Linked DNA regions of Homo sapiens: region 2 is linked to region 1. Evidence: promoter capture Hi-C in human tissues and cell types (Jung and others, 2019). All regions are on one chromosome and are shown on one strand. Each heading gives the region's core, a stretch centred on a gene start or on the middle of the fragment in contact. The rest is flanking DNA. Distances are from core to core; before and after follow the strand shown. Region 1 holds the start of OTOR (otoraplin). Region 2 has its middle 34 kb from the start of SNRPB2.

Region 1 (6,588 bases), core at 447-2,946:
CCCAAGATCTGAGTCCTTGTCTAGTCACTTTTGAGATGCTTACCGTGGTGGGAACTTCCTTGGTAGCTTCCTGGTACACACGCTGTTCCTTGACCAAGTTCCTGGGGAAATAACCCACGACTCCCATCTCGTCCTGGCCATCACCATAAACCTAAGTGCCCAGAAGAATAGCAATCAGGAAAAAGCTGATGCTGAGTGTCTTCTGAGAAACTCGCAGGCGTCCTCTTTGCTGATAGTGAGAATCATAGCTGCCAATACCTCCCTTTCACTCCGGGGTCCAGGGGGCGCTGCGGCAAATCCGAAGTTTACTTGGAGCACTAAGTTAACCCGCAGGAATTGTGCATCTACTGTTTAGTGGCCCAGTCTTATTTCGCTACTTTAGCATGACTTTATTTTACGCAATCTTGTGAGTTGCCTGAAATCTTTTTTGAACCCATAAATAAATATATAAAGACAGTACATTTTTTTAAAGTACTGTAGACACTTATTTTAAATGATGCAAATTTCTCAGTTTTCAACAATTCAAATGAACAGACTTAAATGGCTTTAAATTTAATCCTTCATTAATTTAGAACTTACCTTTAGGGTTGCAGATGAGGACAGAAAATCATCCCTGCTTCATCCCTCCCCAGGGACCGCCCCTGTATATTTTAACTGAAGAACGCTGATTCTTTCGAATTAATTAGGGTGCAAAGTTTCCTAAAAGAATATTGATACTTAGACTCACTGCCAACACACATGCCTTCTACTTGGCAAATCTTCTCAGACGTTTTCGGATAAGATTCAAATTCTTTGGGATGTTTAAGCCCCCATGTATTTGACTCTTTTTTTACCAAAATATCACATTAACCTACATTTGGTTTTGTTACGAAATTGATCTTTCTTTCTTTAAAATGCAATAGCAAATATACCTGAATTTTTGCATTTCCATCTACAATCACTACATGGTTCTTAACAACTAGTATTAAGCATTAAAATAGGTTGAAGGTAGGTAATCAAGGAAAGGTTAAGAGCAATATTCGTCAATAGGTGTTTAAATTATCTTACACTGCCAGCCCAAAATTCTCCAGCTCCATTTTCTTTTACCAGCTTTGAGTACACATAGATCTGCTGCCCTTTTTTAACGTTAATGAATCTACAGTCCGGGGCATTATAATCTTCTTGAGCACTAGCCAGAGAAATAGTATCTGGAAGAAAAAAAATTTAAATGATTACATTTTAGGCTCCTGAATTTTATAACAGTAAAAGGCAATGTATATTAGAAAAACTAGAAAATCAGAGTGACTGATAATTCCCAGTTCATAGCTGGTGTCTATCCAAGAGAAAGAAGACAGCCAAGATATTAAAGCTGCAACAAAACTCAGCCAAGTGAATTCTCCGTAGTAAGATACCAAACATGCAGACCAGAAGAAACAAAGCTGATAACATACACATTGGAGAAGATTCACTTCAAAGTATAATTCGATTTTATGCTATTAGTGGATATATTTTCAATTATGTAATAGAAAGATAATGAAAAGCATAAAAAAGTCCTTACAGACACACTCATCATCTGCACAGAGCTTCTTGGAAGCTAGACGGTCCATAAATATTCCATGCACAGCACATACAGCCACAAGACCCGGGAGGAAAAGTAACAATATTCTTGCCATCTTCCTTTTTTCTGTTTTAACTTGAACTCTGACTGGAAGCGGGGACTGACTTCAGTGGTTCCTGCCTTTTATGTGAAAGCCAGAGCTCTGGGTAAATACCCTGGCCAATTAGAAGGGCCTACCACCCCTCCGTTTTCATAACAGGCTGCTCGGCTTCAGGGGCTATTTAGCGTCTGATTTTCCAAACAGAGTCAAACTCTGTGTCTTTCTATACACAGATAATATCCAAAATGGTCCACTATTGTTAAAGCCGCTTTAGCAGTGGTCTATTGTATCAATCAGTAGGGCTTTGCTGAGAGGACTATGAGAATTTCAAACCATTTTTAGTTTTAATTCACCCCTAATTTTCCTTCAGCTTATGAGCAAAGACATACTAGTTGTAGGAATTTGTTGAAAATGTGAGATCTATAGCACAAATAATTTGATTTAAACAAATTCAATTAATAAATCTGGATTTACGTAATAGATAAATGAAAGATTCTTATGCTTACAAATCTTTCATGATAGGATTCTTAGAAGGCATGCCTGTCCCAGGCTAGAGATGAATTCTAACATACTAATTGATGCCCCATTTAGACCCTACCAGTGGGGAAAGAGATGGGTGGGTTGGGAAAAATAGGTCAATCTTTCCCCTACCTCTTCTCTCTAAGACTTTTGCAATTCAGTCTCAAATGCTCAAGGGTGACAGGTCAAAGAGAAGAGAGTGAAGTTACAAGTTTATGTTACCTGGAACTTCCTGCTTCTGAGCATGTTTCCCATGGGGAGAGGAGCACTCCTAGAGGCACCAAAGTGGAACCGCCAGTCCCTAGCTCCGTCTATTCAGCAAATATTTACTGAGCACTTACTGTGCCAGGTATAGTTCTGGGCACTAAAGATATAGCAGTAAATTTAAAAAAAATATTTTGGCCCCAAGTGTTGCTTTCTATTAGAAGAGACAGACAGTAAGTTACTGCTTTTTATAGGGTGTTTGAGGCTGGCATCTCTCCCATAAGGTGGCCCTTCCCCTGTTCTTATCCATTGCTTCTAGAATAGAGATCCTCTCAGGATGCCTTCTCCACCTTGGTTGATGATGTGACTTCGGAGCAGTGCCTTCTCCCCCAACCCCAAAGTCGTAACCTCATAAAATGAGGGACAAGAATTTAACTTACTAAATAATTTTGTGCAATACAATTTCCCAAGGGATAAATGGGTAAGGCAAAATATAATAAAAAGGTTTTTTGTTTTGGGTATATGTGTGTGTGTGATAGAGTTGTATTGGTTTGAGTGCATCTGTGTGTGTATGTAAAAGAGTTTTGGTGTGGGTATGGGTGTGGGTATGTGTGGCTGTGTGTGAGTGTGTGTGTGTGGCTGTGTGTGTATGTGTGTGTGACTTTCAAGGGAGGATCTTTTATATAGCTGGTCCTGATTGGAAAGTCTGTTTTATTCATACCTTCATTATAGACAAGGAAACTGAGGCACAGCAAATGCCAGAGTGGTCTTTTTGTTTTTTGTTGCTTTTTTTTTTTTTTTTTTTTTCCGAGATGGAGTATTGCTCTGTCACCCAGGATGGAGTGCACTGGTGCAATCTCGGCTCACTGCACCCTCTGTCTCCAGGGTTCAAGCAATTCTGCTGCCTCAGCCTCCCAAGTAGCTGGGCTGGCAGGTGTGCACCACCATGCCCAGCTAATTTTTGTATTTTTAGTAGAGACGGGGTTTCACCATATTGGCCAGCCTGGTCTCAAACTCCTGACCTCAAGTGATCCGCCCTCCTCAGCCTCCCAGAATGCTGGGATTACAGGCATGAGCCACCGCACCTGTCCTAAAGTGGTCATTTTGAACCATCCTATCTAAAGGTTACCAGAGGGATCATGGTTCAATGCTATTTCAATTCATTGTTGTCAACTTGGAATTGACAAATTAGAATAAATCATTTATTTCCTGTTTCACATCAAGGAAAGATTGAATTCGATATTATTTTTGAAAGCAGAATGCCTTTCCAATTTTTCCCCTGTAATCAATCTAAAGGTCTAAATTTCTGGGAAAACTAAAGCATTGATTAAATCTTCTTAATCCTGATTGCGCAGCTGTTTTATGGACTGTTCCAGTCTCAAACCAGCCCTCAGCATAGGAGAGTTAAAAGACAATTGTCATTTAAGAGGCACTTGAAGAAATGGGGACTGCAAAAACTCCCCATTGGGGAGCATATACAGATCCCCAAAAGCAGGATAAAATGATTAAAAACAAAAAGCAAAATGTGACATTCAAGCTATCACAACTTAGAAAATCAGGCTAATGCTAACGTGAAGCCATTATTGGACATTTGAAGGTGAAGAAATAAAGTAATGAGATAACCAAGCCTTCTGAGTGCAGCCTGGGAAAGCTTGTGGTGTTCTGGCATTCTAAAGTGGCAGACACAGGACAGAAGCTAGAGGCTTCTTGGTAAAATTGCATGCAAATAGGAATTTGAACTTGCAATAATTCAGCAAGTAGCTGTGTCTGGCAGTTATGCCAAAGACACTGGGGCCACTGGGGGTTCAGTGAGGGTTCTGGCCCCAGTTTTCATACTCGTTCCTCTAGATTTTCAGACGTATTCTCCAAACATTCAATCCCTAAATGACATTTTTCCCCTTCAGTTCCTAAATTAGATTCTCTGTCTGGAGTTCTTAAATGGAGGCCATGGCTCCTTTAGGATCTAAGCATGGGCTCGGTCAAGTGCAGGCAGCCTCCTTGTCATGGCCTACAAGCTCCTGTAGGATCAGGCCCTTCTACCTCTGGGATTTCACCTTTTGCTCTCTCCTCCACTCGCTCTGTTCCTCCCATACCAGTTCTCTCTAACTTTTGAAAACACTAAACTCATTTCTGCTTCAGGTGCTCCGAACTTACCACCTAGGATGCTTTTCCCCAGATACTGGCATTCAGGTTCCTGGCCAAGATGCCTCCACAGACAGAACAATTTAAAAGAGCCACTTCAAACCTTCCTCCACCCAATCCCTGTATCACGTGGCTGCAGTACACTGTCCTAAGGCATGTATCATAGCTGACATGCCTGCTTTATTTACTTAGTTTGTCTTCCAACCAACAGTATAATGAAAGCTCCACAAGGCAGGCATCTTTGCTATCTTGTTCCTCACTCTGTCATTAGCACCCGGAAAGATACTTGGTGTGCATTAAATAGGTATTCACTGAATGAATGCACAATTGCTCCGAAATTGTACGCATAGGGGTGTGTGTGTGTGTGTGTGTGTGTGTGTGTGTGTATGCATGCATTTTTCCCCTGGGCAAAGTCCCTGGCTTTAAAAACAGATTGATAACACCTCTAAGAGTCATTGAATAAATCATTAGGGTAGAAACTCTGGGGTCTTGCAACTTGCCACCAAAACATGGTCCCCAGACCAGTAACTTTGACATCACTTTATAGAAATGAAGTTTCTCAGACCTCACCCCGGAGACACAATCTAAATCTACGTTTTAATGAGATACTCAAGTCACCTGTATGCACATTAACATTTGAGAAGTACTGTTTCCAGGCAAGTAAAATACCGTAATTTTAGCTCACATTCTTCATAAGGTCTTGGCTGGATATATTTTCAAGGAAAAACAAATGCTTGTTAAATACTCAAACAGAAGATACTATAAGGCTTAAAGTTTAAAATGGAGTTTTGAGTTTCTTGCAACTGAGGTAGGAGACCAGAAGAACTTGTTTTCTGGTCACCACCCTGCTGACCAGAACAGGATCTGGTCCAGGCAGTAAAAAGTGAAGAAACCAGCAGGGACAAGGAGATGTCAAGAAAAGCGATCCTCAGCTGTCTTCATTGTTTATTAGCATAAGCCACTCCCATAGTGCCATGACAGTTACAAATGCCATGGCAACAACCTGGAAATTACCACCCCTTTCCATGGCAATGACCCAGAAGTTACCACTCCTTTCCTAGAAAGTTCTAAATAATCTGCCCCTCAATTTGTATTGAGCCTCCCCTTAATTTGCATGTGACCGAAAGTGAGTTTAACTGGGTATAAATGCAGTTGCCAAGAGCCAATACTTTGCCAACTCTGGGCACACCGTGTATGAATTAGCCCTGCTCTGCAAGGGGCAACACTATTTACCAAAAGACTGCTGTTTACCACCATGAGCTCACCCTTGAATTCTTTCCTGGATGAAGCCAAGAATCCTCCTGGGCTAAGCCCCAAGTTTGAGGCTTGCCTGCCCTGCATCACAACCATTTCCAGAATTAACATTATCCTCTATTTATCAATATACTACTTTTGAAAAACACCATTTGAGTCAATGATCTATGATGCCCTACTTCATGAAAGTAGAAACCTGCTTTGTTAGTTCTTAATCTTGGGTGACAAGGGAATCACCCTGGGGGGGGAGGGGGGTTTATAAAAATATTGATGACTACGTTTCATCCCTGGAGACTAATTGATCTGGGGTGTAGATTGAGCATGGGTATTTGAAAATGGCTCCCAGATGATTCTAATATGCAGCCAAAGTTAAGAACCACTATATTAAATAACATCTACTCCCTTCAATCATTCCTCAAAACTCACACTCCCAAAAGATGGATGAGATAGGGAAGGTCAAAAGATCTTGGTTTGACCAAATCTTCTTTAAAGCATTGCTGTCTCCTTTTTCCTTTCCCCTGCTCCCTATTGAAGCCTTATAGAGTTTGATTGCACAGGAAAGATTTGGGAAAATTAGCAAATATAATATATTGAAGTTAATGGGACTGGTGGAGAAGTGATTTATACACAGGGGAAGGGGGAGAGCCAGGATGAACTCAGTGCTGTTAAGACTGCAGAGACATTCTTAGACATTCATAGTTTTTAACATAACTGTGTAGATATATCCAGAGGTAGACAGACTATCTCTATATAAAATTCACATCATGAAAGACAAGGAGAAGCTGAGGAATCAACAGGAGGCTAAAGAAACATGACAACTACATGCAACACA
Region 2 (5,834 bases), core at 1,115-3,614, 52 kb after region 1:
GGCTCTCACAAGCCAGTAGAAACTGGTTTGACTATACTCTGGTTGCAGTGGTGTTACCAAAATGCCAGGGGTTCGGTCTAGGTCTGCTTGCTTGCCACACAGAAAGCCAGTCTCTGAGATCACGAGTATTGTCAGGGAGGAAGGCTTTTTATTCCTGTGCTGCAGCTGAGGAGATGGGAGATAACTCTCAAATCCATCTCCCTAACTGACTAAAACTGGGGATTTATGTAGCAGAGAAGGAATGCAGAAATGTCTGGGAAAACAGGAATTAAGGAAAAGGAGTTTCAGTTCCTTGATACCATCTGGGAGGCATGAGGGTTGGTTTCCAGAGGAAGAAGCTCAGACAAGACAAGTAATTGTAAGTTTCAGGTTTAAGACGAGGAGGATCAATTTCTATGCTTATCCAAAAACAACAACAACAACAGCAACAACAAAAACTGTCTATGAGAAAACGGGGTCAGTTTCAATAGTTCAAAGAAGTAACTTGTAAAATTATTAGCACTTTCATTAGTCATTTGTATTAGTTTGCTCGTGCTGCCATAACAAACTACCAGACTGGATGACTTAACGGAAATGTATTTTTGATAGTTCTGAGAAATGCTTGGATCTGGAAGTCCAAGATCAAGATGCTGGCAGATCGATTGCACCTAAGGTCTCTCTCCTTGGCTTGCAGATGGCCACCTTCTTGCTGTATCCTCACATGGCCTTTTCTCTATGTGTGCATCCTTGGTGTCTCTTCCTCCAAATACATATCAGGAGTTGGGGCTTCAACATATGAATTTGTTGCCAGGGGAGGGGTACACAATTTAGTCCATAATAGCACTTAGTAAATATTGGCTGAATATAAATCTAAATAGTGAAGCTTCAACAATGAGCTGAGAAGAAGCCGTCTTCTCTCTATGGGAATTATTACGTTAGATCCTGTAGGTAAAAGAATGACTTAGGCTATGCCCCAGAAAACCTGGATGGAGGGTCTGCCCTCACTATGCTGAGACTCATATACAGAGGGTTCAGTAATGTAGAAAGGACTATACAAATGGAAAATGTTATTGTTGTTATTGATATAGCTGCATTATTTCCTTTTCTACCATGACTGGTTTTTGTGGTTGTTATTTTGGTCCCAATTAAGATCTCTCCCCTAACTCAAGCATGCCTTTACGGATGTTGTGTATGGAATAGTTCATCACTGGTTGTGATTATTTATGTTTTGTGTATTTTTAAAGTTTTGTATGCCTAGAGGCTGGGGAGCACAGAGGATTAAGAGTTCAATCTCTAAAGCTGGAGTGCTTAGATTTTAATCTCGCCTCCACAATTATATTGTCCTTGGTAGAAATCAATCAGGTATTCTCACATCACATTATGGTTGTTGCAGAAATTAAAGCCCACCAGGAACACAACCATGGTCCAAATGTTTAGTTGTATTTAGATGGCTGCACTGAAGGGCAGACCAAGCCAGGGGAGCCGTGGGATGTCAGGACAAGCAGGAGTTAGAGAAGGATTCTTGTGGGACTGTGCTTCTTGTGAGTGCTTCTAGGAGGTCTTAAGGAGTGGGACAGGGACAGGTTTTGAACTGGGTACTGTAAAGAGAAATAATTCAGTGATTGGGTATCTAGGTAATTTTTATTAAAGCAAGGTGAGGGCTGTAACTGATCAAGAAGCAGCAGTCACTTGCGTCCATTGTAAGAGGAAGGTGTTTTGTGGCTCTAGAAAGTATCCTTGTCTTTATCTTCTGTAATTATGGTCACACAGTGAACTTATCTGATCATCATTTATATTTTGTGAGTCTTGTTTATTTCAACTGGATCATTACAGCCTAGCTGCTTTCAGGGCTGCTTTCTTATCGTCATCTTGAAATATCATTTATTCTCATCACTACAGAACATTATCATAGTTATTAAATAAGTGGCTATTTAATATATGAGTAAAGAAGTACATATATTACCATACCAAAAATATTTTATGCTAGGTGTTGTCTAGCTTGAAATAGAAAACATTTTATGATATACACTTACCTATATAATATCTTAACAAGTGTATTTCAGTGCATTTTAAAACATAATTGTGAAAAAAGATCCATAGGCTTCATTCAACTGTTCAAAGTGTCCATAGAATCATAGAATCCAAAAATTTCAGACTATCTGAGAGTCTAACCTTCTCATTTTATAGATGAGAAAACTGAGGTTTAGGGAAGAAAAATGACTTGCATAAGATTATATTACAAGTTAGTGGCAAAGCAGAAGTCAGGATCCAGTTCTCTTTCCTAGAAGGCAGCAAAGAAGGAAAATAATAAAAAGCAAAGAAGGAAAATAATAAAAAGGATATGCACTTTGGAAATTGACAGATGAGTATTTATTGGATAATAATACTGTCTTAGCTTGGGCCCTTTCAAAAATCAAACATGTGACAAATATTCCTTTTAACATTTTACTGTGGGTTCCAATCCCAGGGCCGTAAGAGTGAGGAGGAAAAAAAAGTGAGAGAGGCATAGAAGGAGAGCAAATACAAGGGGGTGAATTAATGAGCAGACCACAAAAGGACACAGCCAGTCATTCAATCACAGAGGATGCACAGCAGCAGCAAAGAGTTAAGGTCACAATCCCAAGTCCATGGTGTGGAACACACTATCTTCACACGCCCAGGGTAGGGCAACCTTGATGAGTTGGCAAGAACACATTCGTGGATTAACAAAAGATAAGTTAATGGTTATGGCAGCATGATTCTCCAGGGAGAGAAATTTGAAACTGAGGAAATGTGAAAAGGTACATAAATTGGACCTAATGTGAATATCTATCTCATGCCATTGTTGTGAGGAGTAGAAATAAAGCACCAAACCCAAAAGAAAATCCCATTACTGGCAGCTATCTCTACAGTCTTTCCAATAGTCTTTCCACTGTACCACAGAGTACGCTGGCCTTTTCTCCAGAAACTGAGACTATTTTACCATCTTTTACTCAGAAGTGATTCTCAGACTTGCCTGCACACCTGGGTAATTTTTTAAAATACTGATATCTGGGTCCCACCCCAGTGATTCTGGCTCATTTAGTTTGGGGTATACCCTGGACATCCACTGATCTCAAAGGAAGGTTGGCATGATGATTACAAATGCTTAAATGCCAAACTGAAAACCTGTGGTCTCTTTAATTGGTCTTGATTTTATTCTCGGTTCAACTCCTTGGACCCATTTTGCTTGCAAATTCCACTATGACTGTACCTTGTGCATGGCCTGGGCCAAAGGTGCCCTGATTTTCTTCTCATTCCCTTATCCAAATCTATATTTATGTTCATAGACAGTAAGAATGGGTCAAGAAGACTCAAGGAAGATGCTTCTGCTTCTACCAACTTCATGGCAGGCAATACACTCAAGGTATTTCCATCCGTATGTGTGAATGACACCCTTGCGAACTGTGGCCCTCTTCTAGGCATTGCCCTAGAAATAAATCTAAACCCTAGGAATAAATCTAAACTAAAAATAAAATTATAGGAACGATTGCTAATTGAAGATCACTCAGGAGTGAAAATGAAAAATATCTAAAATTATCAATAAAATATAGAATTAAATGAACCTAGAGTCACAGGATCTCAGCCGCTGGGGAGAGGGGTGAATCACTTGGATGGATCCCTCTCCACCTTGCATGAGTTCTCTTTTACAACATCCACGCAGATATATGACCAGAAGCATTTGATTTGCATAAATTAGTTTAACCCTCAGCTTTTCAAAAACATATCTATTGGGTAAAGTGTGGGCAACCTGAGGGCATCATGAAGTTTGCCAGGTGACAGTGATGTGAACTACAGCAAAGCTGCCTGTTGTAATGACAAACAGTCAAGGAGGCATGGCTATTCTACACACAGATACAGAAGGAGATTGTTATTCAGGAGGTGTGTAAAGAGCTACCTTATTGCTATTCCAAAGGCACTTTCTCATTTGAAGAAGTTGAGAAAATCAATATGCTGTAGTGACTGAAGCATTCAAAGGCTCAAGACACAATAGGGAGTGAGTCCTCCGCCCCAAAGCCACAGATCAAAATCAAAGCCCTGGCCCTGCTTGTAAGAGCGGAGGCTTGGAAAATCCACACAGCAAGAGCTTGGCCATGTTCCCCAGAGACACAGAAGGTTGTGGTTATTTCAAGGAATGAAAGAGAGCATCAGAAAGTTTAAAAATAGGCATTTGAACTTTAGAATAGCTATCTTAAGTCAGTGGAAGCTTTTGAGAAGTCCATAATTTGACAGTGTATTTGGATGTGCGTGCACAGCCATGCATCTGTGAACTCCTGCTATTAAGGCCTACTCTATCCAAGATCAGCAATACATAATTTTTCTTTACTCTTAACAGAAATATCATTCAAACTAGACATGGAAATATAAGAAAAGAGATGTGCTGACATCACACGGTTCCTTAAAAAAATTCACTTGCTTAGTTTGCTATTTGAACATAAGAAAGTATATCCAGAATTTGTTACCCTTCATTTTTGTCATAAAATTATTTATGGAGTACCTGCAATTCTCAAGTGACTATGTTAAGGGCTGTGATTGAAACACATCTTCGCAACTTTAATATTCCATTCAATTCAAACCAGGAATACAGCTTTGTGCTGGGCACCTGGGTGACCAACTGTCCCAGTTTGCCTGGAACTGTCCTGGCATTGGTATTGAACATCTGTATCCCATGAAATTCCTCAGTCTTAGGCAAACTGGGACAGTTGGTGACCCTACTGGACACTGAAGAAGTTACCAAAGAGGAAAATTTCCAGAATTTATGGAGCGCTGGGGAAATTTAATTGGAGAAAAGGAAATTCATATATTAAACTGTCAGATACTGACAGTTTATATTCAAGAAAGGGTATGATTCATGTAAGCCTAGTCCATGTTTAACATGGAGTAATATTAAAAATAAGTGCTATGCAAGTGCTTATGGAAATAAGTGCTTCAAAGGAAAGAAATGTAAGTTTGTGTTAATGTTTGTGGGATTTTTCAAGTGTTGAGTCAAATATTTATTGTGAGACAAGCATGGTGCTGAGCAGGGTGTATAATGTCAAACAGGGCGTAACTAGCCTAGACTTTTAGTTTCTAGCCCCACACCACTAATTGTCCCACAGTCATGAGCAAATCACTTAATGTCTTTGCATCTTTGCTTTTATATCTATAAAATGGGCATTACAGTATCAACTGCCTTGTATACCCTCTAGGGATGTTGGGAGAATCAAATGAGATGAGAAGTATATAGAAAAGCATTTTGAAAACTACAGAATGCAGTACAAATATAAGGGCATAGGTGACATTGTTATTATTGCTGATGGACAAAAAATAAATCCACAATGTGACTTCAGTGATCTAGAACTGTATTGGCCAATAATGACTATTTAAATCTAAATTAATTGAAGTTGAATAAAAATTTTAAAAGTTAGTTTCTCACTTACCCTAACCTAAATATAGTCATTCAAGAGCTCAATGACTATATGTGGCTAGTAGGTTCTGCGGTGGACAATGCAAAGAATATTTCCATTACCACAGAAAGTTTCACTGGGCAGTGCTGGTCTAGATATAAGTGATTGACATTTTATATCTTGAATATGGTGACAATATGTCTTTGAAGTGGGAGTATTTCTAGATAAAAGCAGAAAAGTCATTAGGACTCTAAGCTGTCTAACCTTAACTCAAATTGTGGTGGTCATTACTGGTGCTCACCACATATGCTAATTCTCTTTCTCTCCTGGGCACCTGTTAACATTGCACTTCTTAAAGCTCTTCTGGTTGATTGGGAACACATGGCCAATTCTGGACAATGAGCTCTGAGCACAAGTGATGTATATCACCTGCATGTTGAGCACTTAATC

Evidence for each region. Contacts are between HindIII fragments. The study calls those that stand out against the background at their distance.
Region 2: a contact is called between a fragment that was not itself captured here and the fragment with the promoter of OTOR in region 1, in 1 of the 25 tissues and cell types used here (H1 embryonic stem cells).

What each region holds. Positions count from the first base shown.
Region 1 is chr20:16,743,466-16,750,053 of GRCh38, reverse strand. OTOR (otoraplin) reads right to left here and starts at 1,696. Exons shown (of 4, transcript NM_020157.4): 1 at 1,538-1,696; 2 at 1,048-1,187; 3 at 44-151. The coding sequence starts at 1,652. The HindIII fragment of the contact is 9,309 bases long and covers 1-6,144 here.
Region 2 is chr20:16,692,631-16,698,464 of GRCh38, reverse strand. No RefSeq gene overlaps it. Among named protein-coding and RNA genes, the nearest start is that of SNRPB2, 34 kb to the left of the region's middle. The HindIII fragment of the contact is 5,333 bases long and covers 1-5,030 here.